7 separate regions of the Homo sapiens genome follow, and all the other regions are linked to region 1. Evidence: promoter capture Hi-C in 16 types of primary human blood cells and fetal thymus (Javierre and others, 2016). All regions are on one chromosome and are shown on one strand. The core of a region is centred on a gene start or on the middle of the fragment in contact, and the rest is flanking DNA. Distances in the headings are between cores, read along the strand shown.

Region 1 (2,608 bases), core at 44-2,543:
AACTCCCCTGTACTACCTTGAAGCTTAGGGAAGCAAAGAGAGGGGCATATCTGGACTGCAAAACCAATGTCTTTTGCCGCCTAGGAGAGAAGGGAATGAGAGAGAGAGAGAGATAGATAGATAGAGAGAGAGAGAGAGAGAGAGAGAGAGAGAGAGAGAGAGAGAGAGAAATTCTATTGAAACCCAGCTCCTCTAGAATCTGTGTGACCTGGTCTTCAACGGGAGACCAGTGCGACCTCATGGCACCTTTGCCAGGAATCAGCGATTCCCCTGCAGTCACCATTTGATTTATTGCTTTCTCGCTCATTCTTTCTCATAAAGTTATTTCTTCCTCATCCTAGTAAGACTTTTTTCTTTAATGATGACAAAGCTTCTGTTTCAGTGTTTCCCCTAGGATTGGTGCTCTTTCAAAACAGTGAACCCAGAAAACCATCCCGTTTAATATTTCTCAAAATCCTCGCAGCTCCAATGTAAGCGCAAGCATGCAAAGGTTTCCTGCTACACCTGCACTTTCTGCCCATCCCAGAACCACCCCTCACCCCCGGGCCTGCAACAGTTCCCCTTGTTTCTCTGGATAGAGGTGGGTGGTATTAGGGGTCTAGGGCAGTAGGAGGTGAGGGGCTGAGGAGGCGCGCTAGGGTAGGCTGGTCTGTGCTGGATACGCGTGTTCTTCTGCGGAGTTAAAGGGTCGGGGACGGGGGTTCTGGACTTACCAGAGCAATTCCAGCCGGTGGGCGTTTGGCAGTCACTTAAGGAGGTAGGGAAAGCAGCGAGCTTCACCGGGCGGGCTACGATGAGTAGCATGACGGGCAGCAGCAGCAGCCAGCAAAAGCCCTCGCAAAGTGTCCAGCTGCTGCACTGCCGCGGGGACTCCCACAGCACCATGACTAGTTCGTGCAACTCTGCAGCAGCAAACGGCTTCCGAGGAACACAGGATCGCGGGGGCCGGGCAGCGGGCTACTGAGCATCCCGCGGACGGCGGCAGCAGAGGCGGCGGCGGTGGCAGTGGCACCCGGCGGGGAAGCAGCAGCCAAACCCGCGCATGATCTCGAGAGTTTCAGCAACATCCAGGGACTGGGCTCAGCCCCGGAGCGAGAGGGTCGTCCGCTGAGAAGCTGCGCCGGAGACGCGGGAAGCTGCTGCCATAAGGAGGGAGCTCTGGGAAGCCGGAGGACAGGAGGAGACGGGAGTCCAGGGGCAGACGAGTGGAGCCCGAGGAGGCAGGGTGGAGGGAGAGTCAAGGCGCCCCGCAGCCCGGCAGCCGCCTCTCGAGCTCTGCCGCCCGCATCCCTCTGGCGTTTGGGAAGCAGCAGGTCCTCAGCCCGCCCGGGGTCACGTGGGAAGAGGCAGTCGGGCTCTGATTGGTGGAGCAGGATGCAGGTCCCGGGAGGGAGGGGTCGACGAGGAGGTGCAAGGATGCAAGGAGGAGGCGGCCGCGGAAGCCACAGATGGGCTCGCTCGCCAGGCGCTGGCCCGAGTGGGGCTAGGCGGGGATGGCTCAAATGAGAAGCTCGGGCTTCAGGGTGGGCTACCCGCACACTCATATACCATTCGCCTCACTCTCCGCTCCAGGACGCCCCCTACCGAAGGCGGGGTCCGGACTAGCGCCCCTCTTCCGCGCGTGACCCCGGGCCGCGAGTGCGGGCCGCGGCTGGGTGGCGTCTCTCCGAGCTGGAGATGGTGGGGGCGGAGGTGTCAGAGGAGCAGCAGCAGCAGGGCAGAGAGGGGCGAGTCGGCGCGGGAGAGGGCGTCCTGCTGGCGACCGGCGCTCCAGCGTGCGGGAGCGCGCCGCCTAGGCTGTAGGGGGATGCAGGCTGGGAATGTCGCGGCGGAGAGGCCAGGGACGTTTCTCTAGGGATTTACAGGAAAGAGGGTGAGAGGCGATGGTGTTAGAACCGCTCTTGCCGACCTGGAAGCAACAGCAGCATCTCCCACAAGAGCGTGCAACCCCAAGGCTGCTCGCCGAGGCAGCTCAGCCATCCCGGCAGGCGCTCTCCTTCCTTCTCTCTTCTCCCCTCTCTCCTCCCAGGCCCCCCGCAGCTCCGACCCAGCCCAAGCGTTCGCAGGTTTGAATCCCTCTCCTCATCACCCGCTCCTCTCCAGCCCGTAGCCTATTAGTGTGTCCACCTGGGAGGTGCGGTCAGATGTGTTTGGAAGGTCAGATTGGTCGGGACAAGTGGTCTGAGAGAAAGAGAAAGGCTCCTCTGCATACGCCGCGGGTGGGTTGCCGGGAGCATCGGCCGGGCAGCGGCGTCCGGGAAGGGGAGAGCGGGCTCCATTTGTTGGCCCAGGCAGTGACCCTGCGTTCCTTACTCGGGTCTTTGCCGGATGGCCGGTGACCTGGGGCGACGAGAGAAGGTCTAACTCGGCAGGAGTCTCTGGCTCTGCGCGTTTCTTTCATTCTCTCCAGCGGGAAGGGCAAACGGCATAGCGGGACCCGCCTTCCGTCTGCTGCATTCTTCAGGCAGTTAGACACACTCTTTAGCCTAATGGAATTTTAGTCGCCAGTAACGGGACCAAGAGCTTTCGGGGACAAGGGTGGAGAGGAACATCTTTCTTCCATGACCGGGGTCACTATTGCAGTCTCAGTGTTTTGGATGCCCCATAG
Region 2 (2,608 bases), core at 42-2,541, 480 kb before region 1:
AGCAGATCCCTTTACATTGTTTGTTATTAAATTGTCACTTCTGAGTTTCCACAGTGTTGAGTCATCACCCTCACCATTTATCCAACCCTGGGGTGCAGGCAAGACTGAATTTCCCTCTTTATAAGACTGTAGTCCAGTCTCTGCCTGGGGGTGACCTACCAGGTCAAGGGCTCCCTGCTAAGCCCGCATGGTAGATAGGTGACTGACCTTCCTCCTGATATGTTCTGGCTTTTCCATGACCACTTCTGCTCTCTAACGCCAAACATACCAGGCAACCACGCATTCAACAACAAGGCCTCTAATTTGCTAGGAGGGTTGTCACAGACTGCAAGGATTAACAGCTAGAACATTTTTCCACTTGGGGAACTTGAAGGCACCACACAAATCCTATTTACTTCATTCACTCATTTGTGTGTGTGTGTGTGTGTGTGTGTGTGTGTGTAAAATCATAAAGTTATTCTTAATCGCTATAGGAAAAAAAAGAGAAACCAAACAAACAAACAAAAACTGTTAATGTCCCTATGCAGAGGCAATATGCACTTTGCCTGCATAGTTTGCACTTTTGCCTATTTCTTCCTAGGCAATTTCATTTCTACTTTAAATTTATATGAAATTTTAAAAGCTTTATTATCTGGTTCTCAATACCACTGTAGATTAGAAGTAGCAATTTAGAGAAAGAGAAGAAAAAGAAAAGTCATAAAAAGTAGATATAATTTTTTAAAGTGAAGAGTGCTCTGGGGTCACACACAGCTCAGTAATCCTGAGGTCAGTCACTGCATTGTGACTGATGTAATAATACATTTATATCTTGATGACCTCAAATTGTCATTAAATGGTTAAATTAATTTTGGTATATATCTTTTAAAAGTCAGAAATACAAAAAAATACACTTTTCAACTATATTGTTCAAACTGGTTAAAAAACATAAGAAGTGAACCCTTAGCTGTCTAGAAAACCTAGCTACAGAGAATTATTCCTTTTCACTGGGTTACAAATAAACAAGATCCTATAGTTAAAACTACTGGTTTCTTCCCAGTATCCATTCCACCATTCTTCTGCTATTTAGAAGCCATGCTCTTGGTGGGACTGACCACACCTCTGGCTCCAGACATAGGCTGTACTTGGCCTAAGCTACTCATGATAATCACATCTGCCTGCCAGAGTAACTAGTCCAGGAATGAGCCTGTAGCCATGCCGTACACCAACAGCTCATAGCATTTCTCTGATCACAGGGATCATACATCTGCAAATTGGGGTAGACACTGGCCCCAATTTATCAGTCAGAATAAAACCCTTAGCTTCTGTTCGGTGGCTGTGGAAGAGAGGCTCTCTTCCATCATCTGAGATGCACATTTGAGTCCTGGAACTACAGCAACAATTATCTTACCATGAAAAAGCCTGCCTGAGAATTAAAGCAACCCATGGAAGACAGCAGAGCTGAGGGAGATAGAAAAGAAGCCAGAATCCTGAAATCTACTCTATATCTGGGCTTGAGTCAATAATTGTCATCTGTGTTTAGGCTGTTTTGACTTGCAAGAAAGCACAAATGTTGTACTGTGCTTTGATGGAGGTGATGGTAGGCCATCAGCAAGTACATGTCCGGCACTTGTGTTACGGACATGCATCTAAAGTTCAGGACACCAACTGAGGATGGGCTTGAGTAACATGGAGGGAGATGGTAGCATGCCACACAGGAGCTGCTCAATATGTAAATATTAATTGAGTGTGTTTTGAGTAATCAGAATGGGTTGGGACTTGCTGGGGGAAAAGATAAGATGGAGACTAGAGATCTGAAGACTGAAAAGTCACTTAGGATCGGGAGAAGTGGGAACTAGTGAAGGAGGCTCTGGAGTAGATAGGAAGTGAGCTCTAATATTGCCACATTGTTGTGCCTAATGAGAGAAGAGAACTGGTGAACTACAATGTCAAATCCTTTAGAGACACCAAGAGAATCAATAGACAAGCTTGGTAATTTGGAGGCTATTGCTGACTGGGTGGAATGCATAAAAACCAACAGTAAGTGACTTTGAATGTTGTTAGGTTTATGATAAATATGGTATAAACAAAGTTTCCCAGAGACACTGGCCCAACAAAATATAGTCACAATGACAGACACAAAATGGATTTTTTTTTTCTGGTCCTGCTTCTATTTGCTCTGTAGATAAATCCAGAGGATTAAAAATTCTTCACACCTTTCTGGGGGACTCCAGAGTTTTTTTGTATTCATGACAAACCACTGATTCCAAGTGGTATCTGCCGTTTTCCTCCTCTCCTCAGCTGGCTCTCTGTGGGGACAGGTGATGCTTACAAAGGTACACAGTAAAGCAGAGAGGTGACTCCTGGGAGGCTAGCCAGTCAACAGCTGTAGCCAGTCAATGTCCGTAGCTTATGGCATTCATCCTGGAAGTATGACACCACCATCAGGATGTAGCTAGTCCCCAGCTCTGGAGCTCAGAAGTCTCCTTTCATCAGCATACCAAGACAGGGCTATCCCTTTGGTGGGGCCTGGATTAACCTAGCTCTCAGAGACTTGTCTCCTATGGATCCATTTGTTAAATTTTAGAGAGCAATACAACCGTCAAGAGATGAGAATGCCTGGACTGGCAGA
Region 3 (2,608 bases), core at 75-2,574, 470 kb before region 1:
CAGGAGGAATTTTTCTTTCAAAACAGACCAGACACATTTCTAATGTAATAGAATAGTGTGTTTCTCCAAAGGCAACTCAAAGAGAGGGCTCCTATACTTTAATTCTTTAAAAAAAGTATCAACAAATTAGAAATAAGGCAAAGGGATGGCTGAGTGTCCTTTCTGTGTCAGACTACAACACTGTCTAACAGGATTACTTAATTCTTTGGGAGATTACCCTTTGTTTAACAGATGATTTATTATTGATTAGGGCCCAGGTTCTGTGAAATTACATGTTAATGCATAGAGTTTTGTCTGGTAGAGAAGCAAATGATTTCTGTTTAGTAGAATAATATAACCCGAAAGGTTATGGTTTTATTGCTCTGTAAAATATCAACCAATTATAGATCTACCCTAGCAATCTTGTTGCAACATTGTTCCTTCAATTTCTGTAACTGCTTAGTTCTCCAAATACTCTTTGGAGCTTTGTCATCCTACTGGTTCCCTTATTGGTAAGTTATGTAAATTTTGATACACTTTATATTTATGAGTCATAGTCATAATATTTAATTTAATTTAATTTTTTTTTTTTTTTTTGCTGTCACAGTTTTCATTGTTTTTACTACCTTCCTACTGCCACCACCTGGAAGAGTAGAGGGTTGCCCAAAGCAGAAAACGTTCTAACTCTAAGCGCTAAGCTCCTAGTTATTTGGATTTCCATATATTTTTCTTCTTCATCTGTGTCCTACCCCCTACTTCATGGATGTCTGTTGTAATGATTGAGTCCAATTACAGTAGATTATTGGGATTTGAGGCTTAAACATTTGCAGTTTTGACTATTTTCAAGCAACTTAACATGTAATGATTTGCAATTTTGCTGAGGAATGAATTTCGGTTGCAGGCTTTGCAATATTGATGTGTCTGGAATGACTCACAGAAGTAAGGGGGAGGGGTTCAGCAACAGTCTCTGAATTTTAACTTGGCTATGTTGTTCTACACTCATTATCATGCACACTAGCGCTCCTGAAGTGATAAAAACTTTGTTTCTTTGTGTAAAATGGGCTATAAAAGAAAATCATCTGCTAGTGTTGCTAATTGTAGTAAAGAGAAAGTAAAGAGGTCTACGAAAGCAATGATTCTAAGCCACAGAACAGAAGTGTTGGAGGTGCAAAGTACACCATCAATTCACAGTTAACTCAGCAAAGAATCATGAAAAAGTGTTTATCTGTGCTAATAATCAATGACCAAATTAAAATAACATATTTTATTTTATTAACTTGAAAAAAATCGATAAGTATTGGTGTTTCAAGGGTTTGAGAAAGGTTCTTGTCGAAGTTAGAGCAATATAGTGGAAAGATTAATGAATTTATATTCAGAATGTCTGAGTTCAAGCTCTTCTAATTAGCTATACAGCCTGAAATTGTACCTGAAATCTGTGGGTTGTAAATTCCAAGGGGACATTGTTTATTGATTTGTTGCACATGTTACATGAATTTGTAGGTTTGAAGTTGGCCAATGAATATTACAAAGATCCCTGCCCTTAAAGAGCTTTTCTATTGCATTATAGGATAGGGAGGTAGGGAAAAGAAAGATGGTGAGTAGACAGCAAAGGAATAAATAAATAAACAATTATCTTAGAAGAAGATAAATGACATAGAAAATAGAAATGAAATACGGTAAGTAAAGATTGACATTACGTGTGTGTGTGTTGTGTGTGTTGTGTGTGTGTGTATTTGTACAGGTGTGTTGTTGCAGTGTGTCACTGCAGTAATAAAAAAGGTGGTGAAGGAAAAACTTCATGCTATGGTGACATTTGAGCAAAGTCATGAAAAGAAGGTGAGGGAGTTAACCAAGCTGGAAATCACATCCAGGAGTGGAGAACAGATAAATCATAGTGGCTAAACTGGAGCCTGCTTGGTCCATGTTCCAGGAGTAGGAGGGGACCAGTGTGGCTGGAGTTGAGTGATTAAGGGAAAGAATAGTTGGAGATGAGGTCAGAGAGATGAGTGAGATGGTATTGTCAGCCTGTAAGGTCTTGTAAGCCATTGTCTTTTATTCTGTGTGAATGGGGGGAGAAAGCAGGGGATTTTGAGCAGAAGAGTGATATACATGTTTTAAAAAGATCATTCTGGATGCTTTGTTCAGATTAATTTGTAAAGGGGCAAGGGTGGAAATGGGAGAACTGTTCAGAGACTATTCCAGTAGCCAGGTGAGAGATGCTGGCTTAGACCACATGGCAGCAGAGAGGTGGTGAAAAGCATTCAGATTCTGCATAGATTTGAAAGAACAGCCAGCAAGGTTTGTGGTTGAATTACATGTGGCTGTGAAAGAAAGAGCAAAGTCAAAGAGGACTCTAGGGTTTTTCATCTGATAAATGTGGAGTTGCCATCCACTGAAATAGAGAAGGCTGAGGGTAGAGCAGGTTTTGGCAGTAAGACTAAGTATTCAGATTTTAGCATGCTGTGTTTGAGATGCTTATTTTACATCCAAGGACATACAAATCAGCAACTTCTAGTTGGATTTGTAAATTTAGAGGTCAGTAGCATATCACTGGTTCTGAAAGCCCCAATACTGCTATGATACCAAAGAGTAATTGTAGTTATAGAAAAGAACAGGATCAAAGACTGAG
Region 4 (2,608 bases), core at 48-2,547, 440 kb before region 1:
TTAGGAGCTGTTATTAATTTACCACTGGACTTTCTGTTTGAAAAAAAAATTGATTTTCTTGGATCAAACATTCTTCTGTTTAAAAAATTGCCCATACAAGTTGTAAGGGTTAAAAGTGTGTTAGAAGTTAGGAAGAGATACCTCAAGTTTCATTAAAGTATCCAATTAGTGAGATTCAGCAGTCCATGAAAATATTTATCACATTCCCAGCTCAGCTAAGACCCTATCTGCTCCAATTTTCCTTGCACAGAAATCACAGAAATCTACATTTGCTGCTTCACATTCTAGAGAAACAGGTGAAAATGGAGGGGGAGGGAGCATCTCATTTTTCAAATGTTATGTTTGCTGCTTGAATTTTAGTTTTGGAAACGGATTTTGAGGTGAGAAGAAAGGGAATTCAAGTCTTTCCTTTGCCTTGAAGTTTGTTCATAATGGTGTTGTCTCTGTTTCTGGTGAGCTACTGTCAACTCCTATCTGGGAGAGATCCTGCCAGGTCTTTTCCTTGAATATAAGAAAATATATTTTCTTATATTCCTTGAATATAAGAAATATATTTTCTTATATTCCTTGAATATAAGAAAATATATTTCTTATATTCCTTGAATATAAGAAAATATATTACGTTTTCTTATATTCCTTGAATATAAGAAAATATATTACGTTTTCTTATATTCCTTGAATATAAGAAAATATATTATGTTTTCTTATATTCCTTGAATATAAGAAAGGAAATTTGCAAATTAAAGATTTTTGCTAAGAACAGAAAGTGGCCCACAATGGCGTCATATTATGTTTTTGGCCCTCAAATTGTAAAAGTGTTCCTCTTCATTGGAAGCAGGCCTTACTGTGTACCCTGTGCTCTCAATTTCTGTGTGTCCCTGGCCTCTATAGGGCCGCTTGGGGGCTGGCAGCCAGGCTGGCTCGATGCAATCAGATGACACTGAAAGCCGATTGGAATCATTCCTCAGCTCGATGTCAGCAGGCCGGGCACTTAATGCAGGATGCACTTTTATTTTAATAAGTAATTTATTTAATGAGCCGACAATGGCAAAATGTCAAATGTAGAGACTTCGAGGATGAATAACACAATTGCAAGGAGCAGGAAGTCTACTAGGCTTGCAATATTCGGTGCCTTCAGAAAGGACATTCCTTGAGCTGGTTTCAAAATCAGTTGGCAACTGATCTGAAAAAGGATCTTTGCCATTAGTCTTGATAAAAGTAATGCTGCCCACATCAAGTTTTTAGAGTTAGTAATATGAGAATGGCAGGTGCCAGGTGTAGAGTGTGGGGTAGCATGGGGGGTGGTCCTATTTTGAGAGGAGAGTGAGGCAGGAGGCATACAGCTGGCTCCACGGAACATGCTTCCACCTGCCCATCTAGTCAGTGTGAGGAAGGGCGAGAGGAGCAGACCCCTCCACTAGGTGGCAGTGACTCGGTTTCGCTATCAATTAGGGAAGTGTCCTGGGGTGACTCACTTTAGACTCAGATATTAGTTTTCTCATGTTAAACAGACGGACCTGAATTGGAAGAGGTTTACCTTCCTTTTCAGATACTGAGATAGGATTTTTCCTAACATAATATCCTCTCCAGTGTACAAGTTGTGCTCATTAATTCCTCACTGCTGGCTCTGATTGGCTATGAGTTCAAATCCTATGAAAGTGAGGTCAATTAACCTAAAGATAGACTACCAAGGTTTATAGTAATTCTATTGATCCAACCTTAATTTAATAATTATCTATTGAGTACCCACTAGGCAACAGACACTATTTAAGTCAACAGACATATAGCAATGACACCACAGGGTTTTAAAAAAGTCCCTGTTATCCTAAAGCTAACTTTCCATTAGCTTATTGAAAATGATATTTTTCAATGTGAAGGAGCTAACTCACATTTGGAATGGGTGTTCCTTCTAGGAGTCCGTATCAAAATTATCATTTGTATTTTTTGCCCGATGGGAAGTTGTATTGTGAACTGTGCTATGGCTGATGTGTTTATCTGGCGTATTCTTCAGTTATTCCAACTAGTTTCTATGTCCTATTTTAGAATTTAATTAAAATTCATGTGGTTTCATTCTTCCCTTCTGACTCTGGAGGGCTCTGCAATATGCTTGTAATCCTTTCTAGGCCCACAGCAAGGAGGAAAACCTGTTTCTACTTGAAGTTGGGGTTCTGTGCTGAACTTGTTCTGTGTTGTCTCCCTCCTGGCAACGGTACGTAACTGTGAGATACTGATTTGCGCACAGTGCTGTCTGGCTTTGCTTCTAAAAGGAATAATGTGCATGGCTGGTCTCTGATTGATGTGTGGGAGCTGCCATTTGGGGGCATAAAACACTTTATTTTCCATCCTGCTTAGAATTCTAAGGCTCAATGGCCAACATCTGCCATCCTTCACTTTGAAATTTTTAAATTACCTTTTAAAAAATGATTATAACAGTAATATTATTTATTATTAAAAATTTAGCAAATATAAAAAGTGTAATGAAGAAAATAAAAATAACTCATAATCCAATGGCTCTGAGTTAACCATCATTAGCCTTCTATTTGCATATATTTTATAATACATGCAGTTTTAGACCCTGTTTATATTTTGTCCTCAGCAGTCTATTGTG
Region 5 (2,608 bases), core at 50-2,549, 410 kb before region 1:
TTGTGGTACTCAAATCATAATGCCTTTCCTTAAAATAATGCGAAGTATTTTTCTGATATACATGCCATATCTGTGTATGGTATACCAAGGCTAAGAAGTTACAGAAAGCTGTGTAAACAGAATGCTTCTGCGAGTAGGCTGAATCTCAGCAAGCTGACATAGTGTACCTAGATTGCTGTTTCATGGGCTAGAGTTAAACTATGGAGGACATGCTAATCACGTGTGCTGATGACACATAACTGGAAAGACTGGAGAATGTGTGAGGTATCCAGGATTCTCTAGTGGGAAGGAAATATTGCTTATTCCAGGTACTTCAGAGAAAAGAACTGGTACTAATGGGCAGAATTTATAAAGAGGCACATTTTTGCTTTCTATAAGGAGACACATTTTCCAGCAACTAGAGCATGTGCATAAGCTTTCACCATGAAATGGTAAGCTCTGCATTACTTTACTGTTCATTGGGAAATTGAGAGCACACTTGCAGCTCTTGTGGTTTTATCTTTCAGCAAAAAGCATCACAACAAACTAAAAATTTCCCATAACATATATTAGGTTTAAGCATATGAAAATGCTGCTACTCAATCATTTTTGACTTACAAAAATGGCAATTTCATGTGATTCAATCTAATGGAAATAGAATAATACCCTGGAGTAGAATATGAAATCTATTTTAGATCACTGATTGGAAGGGCAACCCTTAAGCTGTTGCCATCCATCTTTATGTAGGCAGTGTGGGTTGCATAAACCACAAAGTTGTATTTTGTTCCTGGAAACTGCTAAGAAGACTTGATAAGAGAAGAGCTGCTATTCTAAGAATGAGCTTTTCTTCCAACTCGATCAGTTTATTTTTTTTTCTTTTTGGGGTTGGGGGAGGTGGCACCTCCTTCAAAAGTAAGGATATATCTCCAGAATATCTTAGTTTTTGTTTTTGTTTCTGTGTGGCTTTTTTTTTTTCCCAGGAAGCCGCTGTTTATTTTGAATCTGTGTTACTTTGTTGGGAAATTAGCTTCCTACTTTTACAATCAGGGAAGTGGCTGCACTTTCTTCTATTGGCTCTATTTACTCTTTCAAGTATCTTGGGGATCTTCTAAATTTTAGCATTTTGGGATATTTTTCTGTTTTATCCATGATGTTTATAGTTTTCTACACTATTAATATGTATATTCTTGACCTCTAGCTTTCTGGAATTTGAAAGTCTCAATCTCTTTAATTTGGTCCCTACTGTTGTCCTGATATTTTTAGTTGTCTTTCATGGGCATTTTAAGTTCTAGCTATACAGACACCACTCTATTCTCTTTACTTTCACTCTGTAGTGGCTACTCTTGCTCCTTCAGATCTAAAGAGCATCCTTGACTTCTCCTACACTAGGTTAGGCACACTTGCAATGAACTCCCAGAGCAAAATATACTTCCCAGATCATAATGCTTTCCTACTATCTGTTTTTTTTTTTAATTTTACAAATACTTGATAGCACTTTTTTATGTGCTGGACACTTCTTTAAGGGCATTACAGTATTAAGTTATTTGACCTTCACAACAAATATCTGAGGTAGAACCATTACTGTCTCGATCTTATCAATGAGGCTAATGAGGTACAGTGAGGTTAATCAACTTTCCTAAGATTTCAGCTAATCAATGAGGGGGCAGGATTTGAACCAGGGTGTCTGGCTCCTGACGTCCTCTTTCCCAGCCTGTTTGCCACCACATCCAGCTGGCTCTTACTTTATGCTGATTGCCTGTTTAATGGTAATGTCATAGGCCCCCTTTCTCTCTAGCCATCATGTCTATCTCAACCACTGTCTGCCTCCATGAGATGGAGACTTTGTTCCCTGTTGAATTCTAGTACCTTCTAAGACAATGTTTAACACTTAGTTGGTGATCAAAAACCATTTTTTTTAATAAATGAACACACATATGTTTCTGTAAACAGTCAAGGATGGTAATATTTCTAAGAAGAATGAAATAACTGCAACATCTTTTAAGTGCAAGTCAAATGTGAACCAGCTATACTGGAGGAAAAGGGAACTTACCCTGACAAGCAGTATTTTGAAAATTTCAAATGTCTAAAAAAGATTAAAGCTAAAGGGGATTTCATGGTCGGTATCAGACAGTTCAATTTGAAGCAAAGCTGTTGCTATTCAAACTCTCACCACTTCCAGCCACAGGAAAAAGCAGACGGTTGTGAAAGCTTGCAGGCTAGAAGGAAATTCTAATTTTTTGGAATGCCCTGAAGAAGGAGGTAGAGTTGTAGACTCTGACTACTTTACTATAAGACTGATAACCCTGAAAAAATATAAAAAACACATAAAAGAGGGCACGAGCCTGATTAGAGGACCAAGTTGGAGCTGTGTTATCACAGGTCCTCAAGAAATCAGCAGGGCCAGAAATGAGGCAGGCTGCAGGCAATTACAGATTGTCATTAAAGTTAAAAACATGACCCACAGCACTGTTGCTGTATCGCTTTAGGCTACTAAAGCTCCATGCTGTCAGTTATGACACAAAGCACGGGAAAGGACAGTCAGAATTCTATGCTATTTCTGCATTTTTTAACAAAAGTAAAAATTTGTACAATTCTCTACAATTAAAATAAGTAAGCATGGACTGATTTT
Region 6 (2,608 bases), core at 63-2,562, 390 kb before region 1:
ATTCCAGGATGGAGTTGAACCTTAACTCTGCTGTGAAATGGTATAAAATTAGAAAAGGAGAGCATTAAGTGTTGACCTAGAAGACTGAAGAAAGGTTATAACTTCATTAGAATACATTTTTTTTTGAATGGGGTAAATTTTATATGGGATTACAAGGAGGATGGGGACTATTATAGATATTTATTTAAACTATTGGGAGTAATAAGGAAGAACACTGAATAAAATGGCAACAATCGCCAGAAGTAGCTCTATTTATTTTCCCAGGGTAAAGACATTTGCTTGGAATAAAATGGATTTCTGAATAATCACCTTCATCCTAAATGAGTCTACCTGGGAAGAAAAAGCTATTAAGCCATCAATGTACCCCCTCCTCCTTCCTCACCTAGGTATTAGAACAAAATGTTTGCAAACCAATGACCTCATTTTCAGGTAAGGATTGTAAGTTAACAACCTTGCTTATGGAACCTCAATTTGCAAACATATTTCAAATATTTACCTAAATACTTAAGTCTCTAAAATGTCAATTGTTTGAAGATGAGATTTTGAGGACCATGAGGCTATATAAAGAAGTACATGATAAGGCTACTTTGGAGATGTGAATTTGCAAAAAAAAAGTGTCTGAATTTGCAGTTGTTTCAACATTCAATTGTGTGAATAAATTAAGTATTCTAATTTCTTGTTCTTGCTTTGCATATGTAAATATGGTATTTTGTACTTGTGGAATTATTTAGATAATTGGAGAGTTGGATGCTGAGCTCAAATATCAAATCTTTCAAAGGCACATTTGGTTGAAAAAAGAGTCGGACAATTTTTTTCTTCTTTAGTTTTTTGAGTTTTGAGAAAAAGAGTCCTTTTGGTCAACTTATTTTGCTACCAACCTTTCAGAGAGAAATGGCAGTTTATGTGTGGAAATTAATGAGTCAAGGAGAAAACATAATTAGTGACTTAGAAAGGGAAAGTGAGATTAATGTGGAAAAACTCAAATGCATATGTGCCACACACTCTGCCACTGGGCAGCATCAGGGAACTGTGTGCTAAGGGGAAGTCTTAGGTCAGGTGTTGATTGGCCATTGATTTATTCAATAAATATTTATTGAGCACCTAATATATAGCGGGCAGTCTGTTAAGTGCTGGTGATTCAGGAGTGAGTGAGACAGATGAAACTAGGGCCCAATGGAGAAGACCCAGAAAAATGATCATCGAAGGGTGTGGGCCCACTAGAGTGAATTGTAGTGTTGACCACGAGGTGAGTACACTTTTCATTTCTACCTCATTGGCTCCCTGTTAACTAGGGAAGTTTCTGAAAAGGTCTTATGGAACATTACATACCTCACAGTTTCCCTGGACCTTGCAAGGCAAGGGTTGGGTTGCAGATGATACTCAGAGAATGGCCCTTCTGAATACACAGCCACGTGCTGCATGATGACGTTTCTATCAATGATAGACCACATATATGACGGTGGTCCCATAAGATTATGATGGGGCTAAGAAATTCCTATCATCTAGTGATGTAGTCATAGTAATGTCATAGCACAATTGCTTAACTTTAAAAATAAATTTAATGTATCCTAAGTGTACAGTGTTTATAAAATCTACAGTAGCGTACAGCAGTGTCTTAGGCCTTTACATTCACTTATCACTCACTGATTGACTCACCCAGAGGGACCTCCAGTCCTGCATACTTCGTTCATGCTAAATACTGTAGACGGGCATATCATTTTTTATCTTTTACACTGTATTTTTACTGTCTCTTTTCTATGTTTAGATATGTCTAAATACATAAATAATTACTGTGTTATAATTACCTACATTTTTCAGCACAGTAATAGGCTATACAGGTTTGTAGCCTAGGAGGAATAGGCTATGCCACCATAGAGCCTAGGTGTATAGTAGCCATCCCATCTAGGTTTCTGTAAGTACACTATATGTTGTAAGAATATTTCGTTCTCACAACAACAAAATTACTAATGATGCATTCCTCAGAACGTATCCCTGTCATTAGCTGATGCATGATTACTTTGGTGATCTAGGTTTTGTGTTTCTCAAGCAGGGTCAGACCATTCATGTTGTTAACAAAGAGTTATTTAGCTTCTTCTGGGTTCCAGGAATGGTAAGGTTGCGATGGTGATGAATCATTCATAGACCCTGCTCTCATGGGTCTTCCAGGCTAGTGGGAGGGATAGATATTAATCAAATAGTCAAGGAAACAAAGATGTGATTACAAACTGCGATTCGAAGTATGAAGCTCTGCAAAAGCACAGAACGGAGTCTTTCATACCGTGCTGCGATCTGAAGGGATGGAGAGAGTTTAGTAGGGGAGTGGGAGGGAGACGCACATTCCAGAAAAAGGCCCGTTTATGACAATTCCTGGGATTGGGGAGGAATAAGGCCGTTACGGCTGGACTGCAAAGAATTTAACAAAAGAGACAAGATTATGATCAGGGAACATAGATACAAACAGATGGAATCCTGCTGATGCTAGCTGGGTGGCTGGAGATTTCTAGCAAGCACAGAGAAGCTCTCTGCTTCTAGTCAAGAAAGGGGCTATGCAGGAACATTAGATAACTTGTTTTTTCAAAGTTAGGTTAACATTAGACAAATTTACTGA
Region 7 (2,608 bases), core at 80-2,579, 370 kb before region 1:
ACAGAGCGAGACTCCGTTTCAAAAAAACAAAAACAAAAACAAAAAAGAGGAAGGACACAAGGATATTTTCATATGCTTATAAATTGGCTATGTCACCGCTTTAAGTTGGTTTAATATGTTGGTTTAAAATTCAGTCTTCTTCTCTAATTATTTCTTGCCTCCCTCTAGAAATAAGCCAAGATTCCTTGAACTAGAACTGAAACTAGAAGTTCATTATTAGCCTCTCTTAGTTGTTTGGCTAGTAATTGCATGATTAGACTAATACTTTAAGTCGTCAAGGAAGATTAATCACTTGTGAATAAGTAATTATTTTTGTAGATACGACTGTGGGAAAAACAGACCATTGGTAAAACGGAATCCTTAAAATATAGTTAATCCTTAATTATCCATGTTCATAAAAAAGGAAAAGATCCAAGAGATATTTCAGCAATAACCTGTATATGTTATTAACATGCATTTATATGTTTTTAGAGCAGGTTTTCTTCTATAATTAAAATATTTAAGGCTAACCTGAAAATTACTTTACATTCTCTGAGTTTTTACCAATTAATGACAGTGATGTCATCCAAAAATACTCTGGGTGTTGAAGGTCAGTCTAGAAAGAACTCTTTTACTGCAGTTGATTGACTAAGTAAGTAAGCAAGCCTCATCTGAACACTTGAGAACCCTCTTCAAGCAGGAAAAAATGCAACAGACCAACAGCTACCAAAAAAAAAAAAAAAAAAAAAAAAAGGTGCAAAAGTCCCGTCTGTGTCAGAGGGTCTTTGTATCACAGAGTGGTAATTATTTCGTTGCATATGTAAAATATTTGTTGCATTAAGTCATGAAGATTCCAAAACCATGTAATATGAAATCTATATTGAGAAAAGATGAAACTGTATGTTGGAAGGTTAGCTGCTTCCTTTCCCCAAGAGTTTTCCTCAGGGTCATCCCAAAAATGTGCAGGGCCTCAGGTAAATAGTTTTTGTGGGTCCTCTGTCTGTATAAACAATTTGATTTAAAAAGTGTTACAAAGTTTATTCTTCAGAAAATGGGTAAAGTGGAGCTACTTACACATTCGTTTATTGTCCAATCATTGCTTGTAATGATTCCTTATATCAGCCAGTAGATTGGCATTGTATCTTCTGGTTCTTTATTGTCAAATGTGTGGTTCCTGGCTAATTTCATATCTTCCACCATGTGAGAAACAGGTAGCAATGCTGTTATTATTCACAATGCAACGGCTCTTTAGATTCTGTTTGTGCTGAAACAGTATAGACCTCTGCCTCTGCAGTTCTCTAATACCATTTATTTAATGCTGGTTGCATCATTACTCATGAGGCTGCATCATTCATATTGTCACCCATGACTACTGGTTTCTCATGACTGTCTCAAAGGCTGTTACTACGCTTTGTTGATGATGACCACAAATGCAAATCTTATCCAGCATATGCAGAAAAATGTGAATGATACATTGTTTTCTGGTCATGTAAAATTTACTGTATAGAATTTTACAGCATGTAAACTTAGAATACTGTATTTTCCAGTATGTCTTCTGCTGAATGCTTTAGGCAGTGGCCACTGTATTCCTACAATGTGATCTCTTTTAGTGCTGGCTGTATGTTTGCCTTCCACCACTTCTACCAGTGGGGAAAATAAGTGAGGGACCTACAGAGGATAAGAAGAGTGGTCCCATTTGCACAAGAAATGTCCATCCCTTGTCTAGCATGGCTCAAGACCAGCCTGGCACATTACAACATCAACACATGATGTAAGGCAAGAGAGAAAATGGATCTGAAGAGTCACGGGGTAAAGGAGAGCAAAGATCTTGAAAGCTCTTTGTGCAGATGGGCAAGGCCACCCCAAAGCCTGACCCATGGTGTAGAGCCTGTGGAGGAAGTAGAATGACAGCTCTAGGTAGAGGATACCTTGTGCCATCCTGGTTCCTTCATACACTGGAGGTGGCACCGCAGTCTAAAGAGCTATTATGCCAGCTCACGTGTGTGGCTTAAGCCCAGGAATCGGCAGAGTCCTGAATTGTTCTGTGTCCCTCCAAAGTCAGGGTCACTGTCACCCTAAGACAGCATGTCAGCACCATTCCAGAGGCCCAATTTTATCCAATCTTTCACGGTCTCATATAAAAACTATTCTCCTGGGCAGCAGTGCTTTCCTCCTAGAGGTTCTTTGGGGAATTTGGTTTACCTCATGCATGAGGCAGATAATAATTTAATTTTTTTTTTTAAGTGACAGGGTCTTGCTCTGTCACCCAGGCTGGAATGCAGTGGCACAAACATAGCTCACTATAATCTCGAACTCTTGGGCTTAAACAATCGTCCTGACTCAGCCCTGAGAAGCTAGGACTATAGGCACATGCCACCATACCCAGCTAATTTTTTAATTTTTTGTAGAGATGGGACCTTGCTATGTTTTCCAGTCTGGTCTCAAACTCCTGGCCTCAAGTGATCCTCCTGCTTTAGTCTCCCAAAGTGCTGGGATTATAGGCATGAACTACCACGGCTGGCCCAGGTAGAGGCTTAGTGAGTGCTCTGTAGAGGAGAAATGGAGACATAGGTCCTGATCTAGTCTGAGACTTCCCGACCAAATAGCAGAGGGGCTGGTGCCAGGCACC

Evidence for each region. Contacts are between HindIII fragments. The CHiCAGO score rates a contact against its expected background, and 5 or more counts as called.
Region 2: a contact is called between a fragment that was not itself captured here and the fragment with the promoter of TMEFF2 in region 1, in 3 of 17 cell types (naive CD4 T cells, total CD8 T cells and megakaryocytes). The highest score is 6.5, in naive CD4 T cells.
Region 3: a contact is called between a fragment that was not itself captured here and the fragment with the promoter of TMEFF2 in region 1, in 1 of 17 cell types (activated CD4 T cells). The highest score is 5.3, in activated CD4 T cells.
Region 4: a fragment that was not itself captured here is called in contact with the fragment with the promoter of TMEFF2 in region 1 in 1 of 17 cell types (megakaryocytes); the score reaches 7.6 in megakaryocytes.
Region 5: a fragment that was not itself captured here is called in contact with the fragment with the promoter of TMEFF2 in region 1 in 2 of 17 cell types (endothelial precursors and megakaryocytes); the score reaches 5.4 in endothelial precursors.
Region 6: a contact is called between a fragment that was not itself captured here and the fragment with the promoter of TMEFF2 in region 1, in 3 of 17 cell types (endothelial precursors, megakaryocytes and M0 macrophages). The highest score is 8.6, in endothelial precursors.
Region 7: a fragment that was not itself captured here is called in contact with the fragment with the promoter of TMEFF2 in region 1 in 3 of 17 cell types (endothelial precursors, megakaryocytes and M0 macrophages); the score reaches 7.8 in endothelial precursors.

What each region holds. Positions count from the first base shown.
Region 1 is chr2:192,193,640-192,196,247 of GRCh38, forward strand. TMEFF2 (transmembrane protein with EGF like and two follistatin like domains 2) reads right to left here and starts at 1,294. Exons shown (of 10, transcript NM_016192.4): 1 at 714-1,294. The coding sequence starts at 885. RefSeq lists an enhancer at 1,240-1,815. The HindIII fragment of the contact is 4,792 bases long and covers 369-2,608 here.
Region 2 is chr2:191,710,692-191,713,299 of GRCh38, forward strand. All of the region lies in intron 3 of LOC124908062 (a long non-coding RNA gene), which reads left to right. Among named protein-coding and RNA genes, the nearest start is that of NABP1, 34 kb to the left of the region's middle. The HindIII fragment of the contact is 1,342 bases long and covers 621-1,962 here.
Region 3 is chr2:191,728,523-191,731,130 of GRCh38, forward strand. The region is part of intron 3 of LOC124908062 (a long non-coding RNA gene); the gene reads left to right. Among named protein-coding and RNA genes, the nearest start is that of NABP1, 52 kb to the left of the region's middle. The HindIII fragment of the contact is 4,709 bases long and covers 1-2,608 here.
Region 4 is chr2:191,757,687-191,760,294 of GRCh38, forward strand. No RefSeq gene overlaps it. Among named protein-coding and RNA genes, the nearest start is that of NABP1, 81 kb to the left of the region's middle. The HindIII fragment of the contact is 4,933 bases long and covers 1-2,608 here.
Region 5 is chr2:191,786,146-191,788,753 of GRCh38, forward strand. All of the region lies in intron 2 of LOC105373812 (a long non-coding RNA gene), which reads left to right. Among named protein-coding and RNA genes, the nearest start is that of CAVIN2-AS1, 59 kb to the right of the region's middle. The HindIII fragment of the contact is 1,772 bases long and covers 414-2,185 here.
Region 6 is chr2:191,802,782-191,805,389 of GRCh38, forward strand. All of the region lies in intron 2 of LOC729254 (hCG2045843), which reads left to right. Among named protein-coding and RNA genes, the nearest start is that of CAVIN2-AS1, 42 kb to the right of the region's middle. The HindIII fragment of the contact is 3,576 bases long and covers 1-2,608 here.
Region 7 is chr2:191,823,255-191,825,862 of GRCh38, forward strand. No RefSeq gene overlaps it. Among named protein-coding and RNA genes, the nearest start is that of CAVIN2-AS1, 22 kb to the right of the region's middle. RefSeq lists an enhancer at 2,494-2,608. The HindIII fragment of the contact is 3,647 bases long and covers 1-2,608 here.